Regions from separate parts of the Homo sapiens genome. Here regions 2, 3 and 4 are each linked to region 1. The links are contacts of gene promoters, found by promoter capture Hi-C in human tissues and cell types (Jung and others, 2019). All regions are on one chromosome and are shown on one strand. The core of a region is centred on a gene start or on the middle of the fragment in contact, and the rest is flanking DNA. Distances in the headings are between cores, read along the strand shown. Region 1 holds the start of ADAMTS14 (ADAM metallopeptidase with thrombospondin type 1 motif 14). Region 2 overlaps ADAMTS14 (ADAM metallopeptidase with thrombospondin type 1 motif 14). Region 3 has its middle 18 kb from the start of PRF1. Region 4 has its middle 34 kb from the start of ADAMTS14.

What was found. Contacts are between HindIII fragments. The study calls those that stand out against the background at their distance.
Region 2: a contact is called between a fragment that was not itself captured here and the fragment with the promoter of ADAMTS14 in region 1, in 1 of the 25 tissues and cell types used here (spleen).
Region 3: a contact is called between a fragment that was not itself captured here and the fragment with the promoter of ADAMTS14 in region 1, in 8 of the 25 tissues and cell types used here (H1 embryonic stem cells, IMR-90 fibroblasts, heart left ventricle and 5 more).
Region 4: a fragment that was not itself captured here is called in contact with the fragment with the promoter of ADAMTS14 in region 1 in 1 of the 25 tissues and cell types used here (spleen).

Annotation. Positions count from the first base shown.
Region 1 is chr10:70,670,834-70,674,318 of GRCh38, reverse strand. It overlaps ADAMTS14 (ADAM metallopeptidase with thrombospondin type 1 motif 14), which reads right to left and starts at 1,813. Exons shown (of 22, transcript NM_080722.4): 1 at 1,435-1,813. The coding sequence starts at 1,516. RefSeq lists a silencer at 2,932-3,226. The HindIII fragment of the contact is 21,684 bases long and covers 1-3,485 here.
Region 2 is chr10:70,713,390-70,716,704 of GRCh38, reverse strand. The region is part of intron 4 of ADAMTS14 (ADAM metallopeptidase with thrombospondin type 1 motif 14); the gene reads right to left. Among named protein-coding and RNA genes, the nearest start is that of ADAMTS14, 43 kb to the right of the region's middle. The HindIII fragment of the contact is 3,690 bases long and covers 1-3,233 here.
Region 3 is chr10:70,619,132-70,622,455 of GRCh38, reverse strand. No RefSeq gene overlaps it. Among named protein-coding and RNA genes, the nearest start is that of PRF1, 18 kb to the right of the region's middle. The HindIII fragment of the contact is 5,049 bases long and covers 1-3,324 here.
Region 4 is chr10:70,637,222-70,640,565 of GRCh38, reverse strand. No RefSeq gene overlaps it. Among named protein-coding and RNA genes, the nearest start is that of ADAMTS14, 34 kb to the left of the region's middle. RefSeq lists a silencer at 3,308-3,344. The HindIII fragment of the contact is 7,837 bases long and covers 1-3,344 here.

The DNA.
Region 1 (3,485 bases), core at 564-3,063:
ACTTAGCAGAAGAAAGCAAATGATACCAGACAGAGCCCGGTCACTAGCAACAAGACTTCCGACCTTGGGCTCTGCCCAGAAAAGGACTAAAATTCCCCAAAAGCCAACAGGGCAAATAAAGGGAAGGGCAGATCTGCCCAAACTCCCCAGTGTGCTGAAGTCACCAGCCCAGGCTGGGGTAGTGCCCTCCTCCCCAAACTTCCAAGAACGCAGCTGGCAAAACAAACACACCTAGAAACCCAGGGGACCATGGGCACGTGTCAAGGAGAAGGTGGGGCTGCAGAGGGGAGCGGTTCTCTATTTTTCCAAGGTTAGAAAGAAAACTTTTTACAGGAGGACAGTGGCCGCTGAGATCTCTGTATGGCCGAGCCCCAAGCTGGATAAATATAGATCTTCAAAAATAAAAGGATATACAGGGGGTGACCTGCCCACTTGGGCTGAATTAACTGTGAGGTCATGGCCCCATGCTCCAGGCCACATGCCAGCAGGCCCATCCTCACGCAGCTCTCCTTGAGCCCAGCCAGGCTGGGCAGGAATGACAGCTCCCTGGCTTCCAGGCCTGGTGATTCATGAATGCGAGTTTGGGAGGAATTTTCATTTCCACACAGCTCTACCTCTCGTCTCCCCAGTTCACGTCACTGATGAAACATAGAAAGTGGTGTTTCCTGAAAATCCCCCATGCCCACAGCTCTAGTTTCATCCCCATTATAGCAGAGGACCCCTAAGACTGCTGCAAGAGGGGACCCACTCTGGCACATGAACAAGGCTCACAAACAAGGAGGGACCCTGCCTGGAAATGACCGGTGACTCCTCCCCATGTTCAGAGCCACCAGGAGGGTACCCCATGCTGCAGGGCGGGAGTGGAGTGTATCTGGTCTGTATGCAAGAGACCTGTGTCCACAGCGTTTGACAGTGCTACGTTGGGGGCAGTGGAAGGATGTGTGTTTCTGTGCAGGAGCGTGAGTGCCCCGCATGCTCTGCTGTAGGAGGCAATCACCTGTTAGCCTTATGCTGGGTATGTAACAGCCACACACAGACACACACACACACACACCCCTTGCACCCATGCTCACACAAGTTGGAGACAGAAAAGACATTGAAAGAGAAAGACACACAGGACAGAGAAACAGATTGGGGAAGAGGGGAAAGAAGAAACACAGAGAGACAAAGAGACAGATGCGCTGCTCCCGAGAAGAGACTCGATGCTCCCAAATTCTCTCCTGGGGTCTCTGTCTACTTCTAGTACCAGAAAGGGAGAGAAATCACGGGACAGTGCCGTGGCACAGTGGAAGAAAAGACAGCAAATCAGCCCAGAGTGTGCATACTGCCTCCCACCCGCGGGAACCCTGCCCGGGTGGCTGGGGCAACCTTGGGCCACCCTGACCGCGTGCACCCCGGACCCCACGGGCCCCCGCGCGCCCAACCCGCACGCACCTGGGGTCCGGCTGCCCGCGGCGGCGCAGAGCGCACAGTGCAAAGGCAGCAGGTAGGACAGCAGCGCGCGGAGTGGAGCCATGTGGCCGCGCTGGGACGCGGGCTGGGCAAGCGCCCGATCCCCAAGTCCCAGGCTGAGGGCGGCGAGGCTAGGGTGCGCCCCGGGCTGTCGGAGCACCGGCTGGCTGCCGCCGCTGCCGCCTCAGCCGCCTCCCCGCCTAGCTGCTTCCCTCCCGCCTGCTCCGGGTCCCCTGCGCGGCGCCGCCGCCTGGACCGCTGGCTCCGGGCGCGCGAGGCTGCCGGCTGGAGAGCGGGGCCACTGACGCGCCAGCGCACCCGGTGCCAACTGCCGGCTGGTCGGTCAGCCCGCCCGCGCAGTGACGCTCCGGGACTCCGCGGGAGCCGGGCGACGGGGCGGCGGGACGGGCCGGGGGTGGGCACACTGGGCGGGGCGGGGCCGGGCGCGGGTCGGAGCTGGGGCGCCGGGCGCCCGGGGGCGGGGCGCGCGGCTGGGGAGTGCAGCTGCCTGCGGCCGGGGATCGGAAGTGCCACGCGGAGACAGAGCAGGGGTTCCTGGCGCACGGACCGATTGTCCCCTCAGACGCCTGGGATCCCCGGAGTGGTGGCCCAAAGCCGCTTTCTATGGCTGCTCCGCCCCCTTTCTTGGCCGCAGGGCCTGCTCTCTGTTTCTGTTCCAGAGCCAGGAGCCCAAGGGGTGTCCGGCTGCATTTGGGAGTGTGGTGGACAGTGAACCTCCCGGTAGAGGGAGACTCCCTCTTTCTTTCACTATGGTCTTGATGCCCTCACTAACCATCGACCCCTTGGATCTACCCATTTTCCAGACTCCAGCCCAGGGTGCACGACTGACCTGTGTCCTAGCCAAGAGCAGGGCTGAGCCGGTGAGGAGAGAGCCCTGGCTTCAGAGTCAGACAGCCCTGATTGAAATCCTAGCTCTGAGCCTCAGTTGTCTTATCTGTGAAATGGGTGTTAACTACAGCACATAATAGATGCTCAATAAGTGATAACTGCCCTCCACTTCCATCCCTGACACCAGTAGCAACTGTGGCATCCCAAGGTGGAAAGAACCAAGAGTCTGAGAGATGAGCACTTGATGCTAGTCTTGCAATGGTGTTGAGACCAGGTCAGGAGTCAGTACAAACAACCCAACAGAAGATCCATGCTCTTGCTTTACTCTGTAAATATGTAACTAATAACTTGCAAATAAACTATATTTCAAGCAATCCAGGGGTGGGAGTTGTGGAAAGGAGATTTTTTTGTAATAACCATGGAATAAAGAATCTTGGAAATGATGCCAAGGTTTTGGAGGACCAGTGCATTTAAGAAGCAGGTTCAGAAAGCTAAAGTATATTATATTCCAAGCATTCCAAGCTACATCAGAGCATCCAGTTATTTGGAAATGCCACAACCAAATTGATCTATATTAAATTCAGGAAGAATAGAGTTCCTCTTTCTCCTCTTTCTGGTCTTTTAAGATGTGTGTTGGCTGCGTGCAGTGGCTCACGCCTATAGTCCCAACACTTTGGGAGGCTGAGGCGGAAGGGTTGCTTTAGCCTGAGAGGCTGAAGCTGCAGTGAGCTGAGCTTCAGCTCACACCACTGTACCCAGCCTGGGTGACAGAGCAATACCCTGTCTCAAAAAAAAAAAAAAATGATGTGCAAAGTCAAGGTCCAGACAGGATTCTGTGTGTGAGGGATGACAGAGCAAGAAAGTTAGAGGGTGTGTGTGTGTGTGTGTGTGTGTGTGTGTGTGTGTGTGAGAGAGAGAGAGAGAGAGAGAGGAAAGAGAGAGAGAGATAGGAAAGAGAGAGAGAGAAAGAGAGAGAGAGAGAAAGAGAGAGAGAGAGAGAAGGCTGGGAGATGACCAGGCTGGAGCTTCACAGCTCTGGCCCTCTGCAAACCCAAGCCCACCAAATGATCTCTGGATAAAATGGCTTCCCTTCTCAGGGTCTCAGTTTTCCAAGCTGCAGAGTGGGAACCCTGCGGGACAGAAGGAAAAAGTCATGGCGTAAGGATTGCCCCTTTTCTGCTGTG
Region 2 (3,315 bases), core at 139-2,638, 43 kb before region 1:
CCCGGAAATCAGGATCAGAAATGGTCACAGCAGACAGGTGTTCCAAGGGGAATGCAAAGGCAAGCTGTTATTACTGGCCCCATGGAAATCCCCTAAGGCAATTCGAGCGTCAAGCATCCCAGCCAAATAAAAGCTTCCACACAATGGACAGGATGAGCTGCTGGTCCCCAGGGAGGCAGACTGTCGGTCCCCATCTGCTCTCCTTCCCTTGCTGGGAAGTTTGACTGTCCGTCCTCTGCACCTGTTCGGGGGAAGCCAGAACCCCACACCGCCCATGTACCCGCGATGGCAGCAGCAGGTCTGCAAGGTCATGGCTCCTTTAAGCCGCAGTCCATCTCAATGCTGTGAGCCTCTCTCCCCAAGAGGAACTGGGCTTCCCTCAGGGGAAGCTCTGCCTCAGCTGTGCCCCTCACCCATCGCAGGCCCTTTCTGTTCCCACATTCACAGGGCAACCCAGCAGTGAGCAGAAGACCTAGCCTCTAGCGGCCTTCCAGAACCTCTGGGAAGATCATTACTCTCCTCTCTCCTCACCCACTTTCTGGCAGATTGTGGGGAGAAGGAAGGTAGGACCAAGACTATCCAAACAGCAGTCACCAAGGCAGGCCCTCGGGGCCCAGTCTTCAGTGGAAACTGACAATGTTCCCCGGCCACAGCTTTGAGTCATGCATGAGTCAGAGGTCAAGGGTCAAAAGTCAGAATGTGTTAATTTGGCCAAGAAGGTTAGAATGGGTTACTGAGCCTGCCTTCCTCCAACAGTAAAGTCCTAGGGACGTCAGGGGAACACCAGAGAAGGATAAGTGGGCAGCTGGCCTCCACATCATGAACATCAAGGGCTCAGAGAGAACTTCCCACCCACTCCTGCCACCATCCACGTGGTCTCTTATAACTCCAGATTGGAGGGCTTCCTACCCCCTTCTGAATGCATCACGTTTCAGGCCAGGCCAGCCCTGGAATGCCAAGTTTCAAAAGTACACTTTGCCCAATAGAAAGAAACATCTCACTTATAGCCCATCAAAAGACCTCTTCTGGTTTCCAAGGGAAGCTCCCAAATTCTGCTTGGGGAACAAGCTCCCATCTACTCTCCCCACTACCTTCCAAACTTCGCTGCCTTCAGCTCTCCACCTCAGCAGTGGGTTTCATTGTTTTTCCCATAGCCCCAAAGAGTATCCCCTCCACCCTCACCCCCATCATTTGAGCTGACCCTCTTAGAGCCCTTATCAGGGGCTCAGACCAGGCCACTCAGTGGGTCTGGAAGGGGCCTCGCTGAGGGCACACAGTGCCCAGAAACCATGCATGTGGAGCCCCTCACCAAGCAGAGACTGTAGGAGCTGGCACAGGTCATGGCCCCTCCAGGACATACATGCATACAAGCACTCCCTCTCCTGGGGTCCTGTTCCCAGCCTGTGTGAGGGCCCATTTGGAACCCCAGCATTAGGATACAGATCAGTGTAAGCTGAAGACATCTGAAAGCCAACAGATGCAGAAAGAAGCCTTCTCAGCTTTCCTTAAAAGCAGCAGCATCTGGGAAAAGAGGTTGTCAGAAATCCCCTTAAGGGAATTTCACGGTCATAAAGACAGAAATACCACTTGACCCTGCTTAAGTAAGCATTATCACAAACTTCATCTCCCGTTAGTTCTCCTAAAAACCCACTTGTCTTTCCTAAAGAAACCTTTCTCCCTTCCCCTTTCTCTCCCTATTAAGCTAAGAATATAAGCCCCCAGGTTTTGTTTCTTTTTTTTTTTTTTTTTTTTTTTTTTGAGACTGCAGTCTCCCTCTGTGGCCCAGGCTGGAGTGCAATGGCCCGATCTCGGCTCACTGCAACCTCCGCCTCCCAGGTTCAAGCAATTCTCCTGCCTCAGCCTCCCGAGCAGCTGGAACTACAGGCGCACCACCACACCCAGCTAATTTTTGTATTTTTAGTAAAGACGGGGTTTCGCCATATTGGTCAGGCTGGTCTCAAACTCCTGACCTTAGGTGATACACCTGCCTCAGCCTCCCAAAGTACTGGATTACATGCGTGAGCCACTGTACCTGGCCAAACCCCCAGTTTTCACCACCCCTTTGAGGTACTCATCATGGAGCACCCCTATATACAAGGAACTGGCAAATCAACTCTTTTCTCCTGCCAGTCCATCTCTTTCAGTTTAACTCACAAGCCCTCCAGTACTGAACATAAGAGGGTGGAGAAAAGTTTTTCTACCATAACAGCTGGGTCACCAGCCACGGACAGCACCAGCTGGCACCAGGCCTGGGGAAGAGGGTGAGCTCTGGAGTGGACACAGTGGTGCTCAGATCCCAGCCCCACGGCCTACCAGAGGGCAGACTAGCAAGTTACAGCCTGTCTCTGCACGCCAGTTTCTATGTAAGGACATTGAGGCTACTCAGACCTCTCACAGGGTTATGGGGAGACTTAAATAAATGAGGTCGAGTCTACAAAGAGTCTGGCTCCCAGTGGTTGCTCAAAAACAATACTAATAATTTCTACAATGATATTCTTTTTTTTTAATTCTAGAGACAGGGTCTTATTCTGTTGGCCAGGGTGGAGTGCAGCGGCACAATCATAGCTCACTGCAGCCTTGAACTCCTGGGCTCCAGCGATCCTCCCACCTCAACCTCCTGAGTAGCTGGGACTACAGGTGTGCACCACCTTGCTTGGCTAATTTTTTAAATTTTTTTGTAGAAATGGGGACTTGCTATGCCCAGGCTTGTCTTGAACTCCTGGCCTCAAGCAATCCTCCTGTCTTGGACTCCCAAAGTGCTAGGATTATAGGTGTGAGTCACGGCACCCAGCTTGCAATTATATCTTGTGCAGTGGTCTGCAGACACACAGCAGTATAAGCTCAGAGGGCAGGGACTGTGTTTTCTCTTCCTTTTGTGTCCCCCACTGTGGAAGCCATTCTTCCTGTCCGCATGCTTTGCTGCTTGCCTTCTGGGCACAGGTCCTGCTCCAACTCACCCCCATACACAGCGGCAAGCTGTGACCCAGCAGACCCAAACCAACCTTCTAGTCACAGCAATTAATACAGGGATAGCCTCATGTCCCACCCTAGCCAGTCTTCCCTAGGAGGGCAAGAAAGAGACCTTTGGCATTTGGGTCCTAAGTGTGAGGACCTGGGTTGTTCCTGTTTCCCATCATGGGAGAAAGCCCATCTGCTGCTGGGTTCCACTGACAAGCACAGGCCAGCAGAGTAGGGGACGGTGCCCTAATGGGCCTGAAGCCCTCATCCTGTGGCCCCTGGGGCTCCTGCCCCACTGGCTCTGTGGGCATGTCAGCAGCTCCCTGCCAATACACCCCTCTTTGGCTTCAGCTAGTG
Region 3 (3,324 bases), core at 310-2,809, 52 kb after region 1:
AGCACTTTGGGAGGCTGAGACAAGCAGATCACGAGGTCAGGAGATCGAGGCCATCCTGGCTAATATGGTGAAACCCCGTCTCTACTAAAAATACAAAAAAAAAAAAAAAATTAGCCAGCCATGGTGGCAGGTGCCTGTAGTCCCAGCTACTCAGGAGGCTGAGGCAGGAGAATGATGTGAACCTGGGAGGCGGAGCTTGCAGTGAGCGGAGATCGCACCACTGCACTCCAGCATGGGCAACAGAGTGAGACTCTGTCTCAAAAATAAATAAATAATAATAATCAGCTCAAAATCATTCTTATGCCAGAGGCATATTTTGGAGTGGCATATTCTGATCTGCTAAAACCATATTTTAGAGTAACATATTTTGTTTTTTTACAATATTAAATCTTTCTCCTTTTCTGAAATGTGCATTTATGACCATAAACTTCCCTCTAAACATAATATTAGTTGCATCCCATGTATTTTAGTGTATCATATTTTTATCATTCAGTTAAAAGTATTTTCTGACTTATTCTTTGATTTGGAACTTATTTTGAAGGATATTGGTGTTAGAAGAAAAGTTTTAGACAAATTAAATTTAACAGAGTTTAATTGAGCAAAGAACATTTCACAAATTGGGCAGTCCCTAGAACCAGAAGAGGTTCAAAGTGACTCTGGTGGTTGGAAAGGATTTATGGACAGAAAAGGGAAAGTGAAATACAGAAAACAGAAGTGAGACGCAGGAACAGCCAGATTAGTTGCTTGGCAGCCAATCCAAAAGGCAACTAAGCGTTTGCCTTATCTGAGCATGGTTTGAACCATTGGCTGCCTGTAAGTGGTTGAAATATGACTGCTGTGATTGGCTAAGACCTACTTGTTACAAGAGTAGGTTACAAGGCCTGGCATGGTCGCCCACACCTATAATCCTAGCACTTTGGGAGGCCAAGGCGGGTGGATCACCTGAGGTCAGGAGTTCAAGACCAGCCTGGACAACATGGTGAAACCCCATGTCTACTAAAAATACAAAAATTAGCTGGGCATGGTGGTGCGCACCTAATCCCAGCTACTTGCGAGGCCGAGGCACAAGAATCACTTGAACCTGGGAGGTGGAGGTTGCAGTGAGCCAAGATTGTGCCATTGCACTCCAGCCTAGGTGACACAGTGAGACTCTCTGTCAAAAAAATAAAATAAAATAAAAGAGTAGGTTATAGTCTGTTTACACATCCAGTTAGGTTACAGTTCATTACTTACTGAGAAACCTTTAGGCCAAACTTGAACTATGTAAGGAGGCAGCTTTAGGCTAAATGTAATTTAACCCTTGTATATTTTCAAACATTTTGATTTTTTGTTTGTTTGTTTTTTTGTTCTTGTTATTGATTTCTTGCTTAATCCACTGAGTAACATTCTCTGTAAATTTTTAATCCATTGAAATGTTTTGAGATATTTTATGGCCCAGTAAATTGCCAATTTAGGTAAATGTTCAGTACGCACTTGAAAAAAAGACATATTTCTTTTGTAAACCAAAAACAAAATCCTAAGCTACCCAACTGATTGAATGGACTCCCTCTGGGCCAAGGAAAACCTGAAAAAATGAATTCCAAATCATGATGGGAAGGGAAGTTGGAGAGGCCTCATTATGCCCCCTCCCTTTTGGAGTTTAGGCACAACTGGCCAGCATTAATATTAAAAGAGAGATCATAAGACCGACAAAACAGACTCTTTGTAGTAATAAAACACAAAATTCCAACCTAACTCTGGTATGGCATCACATGCTGTCTGCGGGCTGCCACCTATGAGACTTCATCTACGTAACAAGGGCCTTGGCTTCCACAACCCCCTTGTCTTAGCTCAAGGATTCCTTTCTACTGACTTCTTAAGCCTTTAGACAAAGCTTAACTCTTTCAACCAATTGCCAATCAGAAAATCTTTGAATCTACCTATATGACCTGGAAGCAGTCCCCTCCCCATAAGACATCCCACCTCTTTAGGCTGAACCAATGTACACCTTCCATGTATTGACTTATGTCTTTCCTTGCAACTCTTGTTCCCTAAAATGTATAAAACCAAACTGTAGCCCAACCACCTTGGGCACACTTTCTTAGGACCTCTTGAGAACGTATCCTGGGCCATGGTCACTCATATTGGCTCTGAATAAGCCTCTTTAAATATTTTACAAAGTTTAGCCTTTTCATCAACACTTTGGTGTATGGGTACAGTGTCCTATATATGTCAGTTGGGTCAAGCTTATCATTGCATTGTTCAATTTTTTTGTATCTTTACTGATTTTATTGTCCACCTGTTTTATCAGTTAAAAAGAGAGGTATGTTAACATATTTCACTACAGTATGTATTTATTCTGTTTCATTACTTCAGTTTTCTTCTTTAAGGTCTCTTTTATACATGGGTTGGATCTTCTCTATCTTCCATATCTATCACCTTTATATCTTTTTTTAAACCAGTCTCCACTTTTGATTTTTTTAATTTCCTCTGTTTCATCTTCTATTTCTCTTATGACATTATTTATGTTATTTATTCATTCTAGCTTCTTTTTATTTCTAAAATGGTTAGAGGTTTTTTTTAGAAAAGAAAAATGGTTTTTTCCTAACTAAATTCTGTGTGAGCTCTTTTCAAATTTTCCTTGTATCCAATTATCTCATCTCTTAATTTTTATAATCCTGACTTATGCTTTAGTTTCCTAAATTCTGTCATTTTAAAAACTCTTCTACTTCATTTAAAAATATCAAATGAAAAATTTTATGTATTTTGTAGGGCATGTCTTTCCAGAGATCATTGCCTGATGATCTGTTACTATGCTAATCAACTTTTTTCTTTAAAAACAAAACAAAACAAAACAAAACAAAAACTGAATGGGACTGGATTTCTCCTCTGCAATCCTTTTGCATTACGTATGTTTAAGTGAGATAGTTTTTCGGGCAGTCCTCAATGGGGAGAATGGGAAAAGATTTCTTGGCCTAGATTCGTGACTCTAGGGCTCCCTCTTCTGTTGTACTGAAAAATGTCTTTAAAATGGGTTGAAGATTCTGGGAATGACTTCCTCTGTCGCCTTCCTCCAGTTTTGTCTGGACCTTATCTGTACATGGCTCCCTGTCTTGCTCAGTTTAGAGTCTAGTCCCAGCCATTTTGCCTCTGTGTGAGACTTTGTCCTAGAAGGATATTTAGCTGGCAAGTTTCAAGATTTTATGAGGCGATTTCATGGGTTGTTGGGAGGATTAATTTACATGATAATTATAAATTCACAAGGTGTCTGGCAGAGAGTGCATGTTAAACATGGGATGCTTACAGTTATAATGATTAATACCCACTCATTTATCCCTACATCCT
Region 4 (3,344 bases), core at 443-2,942, 34 kb after region 1:
TTCAGGACATAGGCATGGGCAAGGACTTCATGACTAAAACACCAAAAACAATGGCAACAAAAGCCAAAATAGACAAATGGGATCTAATTACACTAAAGAGCTTCTCCACAGCAAAATAAACTATCATTAGAGTGAACAGGCAACCTACAGAATGGGAGAAAATTTTTACAGTCTACCCATCTGACAAAGGGCTAATACCCAGAATCTACAAAGAACTTAAACAAATTTACAAGAAAAAAAAAAACCCATCAAAAAGTGGGAAAAGGATATGAACAGACACTTCTCAAAATAAGACATTTATGCAGCCAACAGACATGTAAAAATGCTCATCATCACTGGTCATCAGAAAAATGCAAATCAAAACCACAATGAGATACCATCTCACGCCAGTTAGAAAGGCAATCATTAAAAAGTCAGGAAATAGTAGATGCTGGAGAGGATGTGGAGAAATAGGAACGCTTTTACACAGTTGGTGGGAGTGTAAATTAGTTCAACCATTGTGGAAGACAGTGTGGTGATTCCTCAAGGATCTAGAACTAGAAATACCATTTGACCCAGCAATCCCATTACTGGGCATATACCCAAAGGATTATAAATCATTCTACAATAATGATACACACACACGTATGTTTATTGTGGCACTATTCACAATAGCAAAGACTTGGAACCAACCCAAATGTCCATCAACGATAGACTGGATTAAGAGAAGGTGGCACATATACACCATGGAATACTATGCAACCATAAAAAAGGATGAATTCATGTCCTTCGCAGGGACATGGATGAAGCTAGAAACCATCATTCTAAGCAAACTATCACAAGGACAGAAAACCAAACACTGCATGTTCTCACTCATAGGTGGGAGTTGAACAATGAGAACACATGGACACAGGGCGGGAACATCACATACCGGGGCCTGCCAGGGGGTGAGGGGCTGGGGGAGGGATAGCATTAGGAGAAATACTTAATGTAAATGACAAGTTGATGGGTGCAGCAAACCAACGTGGCACATGTATACCTATGTAACAAAACTGCACGTTGTGCACATGTACCCTAGAACTTAAAGTATAATAAAAAAGAAATAATAATTTAAAAAAAAAACTTAAAAGCGTCTAAAATATCAGAACGCCACTTTATAGTGAGAAGCAGAGTCTCCAAAAAGTAGAATCTCAGCATGCACTGGTCTGATCTGCCCCACTTCTCCCCCAGTGCACATACTCCGCCCCTGCCGACTCCTCTACCCAGTGCTCAGGCACCAGCAGCTGTCTGCATCTCCCCAGTGATGGGAAGCTCACTACCTCCCAAGGGTACTTATTTTATAATGGGACAATTATTTTCACTTTTTCCTTTTTTCTTTTTTTTTTTTTTAAGACAGGGTCTTTGTCGCCCAGGCTGGAGTGCAGTGGTGTGATCTCCACCTCTCAGGTAGAGGCAATCCTCCCACCTCAGCCTCCTGACTAGCTGGGACTACAGGAGCACGCCACCATGCCCAGCTAATTTTTGTATTTTTTTTTTTTTTTTTTTTTTTTTTTTTGGTAGAGACAAGGTTTCATCATGTTGGCCAGGTTGGTCTCAAACTCCTGACCTCAAGTGGTCCACCCGCCTCGGCCTCCCAAAGTGCTGGGATTAGAGGCATGAGCCACCATGCCCAGCCTATTTAAAAAAAAAAAAAATGGTTGCCGGGAGCGGCAGCTCATGCCTGTAATCCCAGCACTTTGGGAGGCCAAGGCGGGCAGATCACCTGAGGTCGGGAGTTCAAGACCAGCCTGACCAACATGGAGAAACCCCATCTCTACTAAAAATACAAAATTAGTCATGGTGGTGGTGCATGCCTGTAATCCCAGCTACTCGGGAGGCTGAGGCAGGAGAATAGCTTGAACCCGGGAGGCGGAGGTTGCTGTGAGCCGAGATCGCGCCATTGCACTCCAGCCTGGGCAACAAGAGCGAAACTCCATCTCAGAAAAAAAGGTTGTGGTTAATTTGTGCCTGATAACTTTTAAATGTAAAGGTATAATGAGAGTTCATGGCAAGAATGATGCAACTGACAAATTTCCTTTATATATGTGGCATGAAAAACAAGATAATAGGCCAGGAGCGGTGGCTCACGCCTGTAATCCCAGCACTTTGGGAGGCTGAGGCAGAGGATCACCTGAGGGGTTCGAGGCCAGCCTGACCAACGTGGCGAAACTCTGTCTCTACTGAAAATACAAAAATTAGCTAGGCATGGTGGTACTTTCCTGTAATCCCAGCTACTCGGGAGGCTGAGGCAGGAGAATCGCTTGAACCCAGGAGGCAGAGGTTGCAGTGAGCCGAGATCGTGCCACATTGCACTCCAGCCTGGGCTACAAGAGCGAGACTCTGTCTTAAAAAAAAAAAAAAAAAAAAAAAGGAAAGGAAGGAAGGAAGGAAGGAAGGATCATAAGCTGTCCAGAAAGCCCCTCCATGTACTACCCTCTCCATCCCTAACACTGCTTGACAAAATGACCAGTCTTCTGACTTCTGTCGCCACAGATTCATTTTCCCCATTTTAAATTTCATTTACATGGAATCATACAGTTTGTATTCTATTGTGTCTGGTTTTGTTCACTCAACTTTTTTTTTTTTTTTTTTAGACGGAGTCTCACACTGTCGCCCGGTCTGGAGTGCAATGGTGTGATCTCGACTCACTGCAACCTCCACCTCCTGGGTTCAAGCCATTCTCCTGCCTCAGCCTCCCAAGTAGCTGGGATTACAGGAGCCCGCCACTGCACCCAGCTAATTTTTTGTATTTTTGGTAGAGACAGGGTTTCACTATGTTGGCCAGGCTGGTCTCAAATTCAACATTTTTATGTGAGATTCATCCATACTTGTCTCTTGTATCAGTCATTCATCATTTTTTTGCTGCTGTATAAAATTCCATTGCATGAATATTCTATCATTTATTCACCCATCCTATTGTTTATGGGCATTTGGGTTGTTTCCATTTGGGCTATTTATGCACAGCACTGCCATGACCAGTCTTGTACATATCCTTTGTTGGACATAAGCAATTATTTCTATGGGGGCAGGAGTGGGACTGCTTGCTCTTAGGTGTATGTATGTTTACCTTTTAAAAAATTACTAAATAGTTATTTAAACAGTTTGATGTTTTTTGCCTCCTTTTTCTTTTTCTGTTTGTTTGATTTGTTTGTTTGTTTGTTTTTAGATAGGGTCTCACTCTGTCGCCCAGACTGGAGTGCAGTGGTGTGACCACAACTCACTGCACCCTCAACCTCCTAGGGCTCAGGTGATTCTCCTACCTCAGCCTCGCTAGTAGCTGGGACTACAGGCATGCGCCACCACGCCTGGCTAATTTTTGTGTTTTT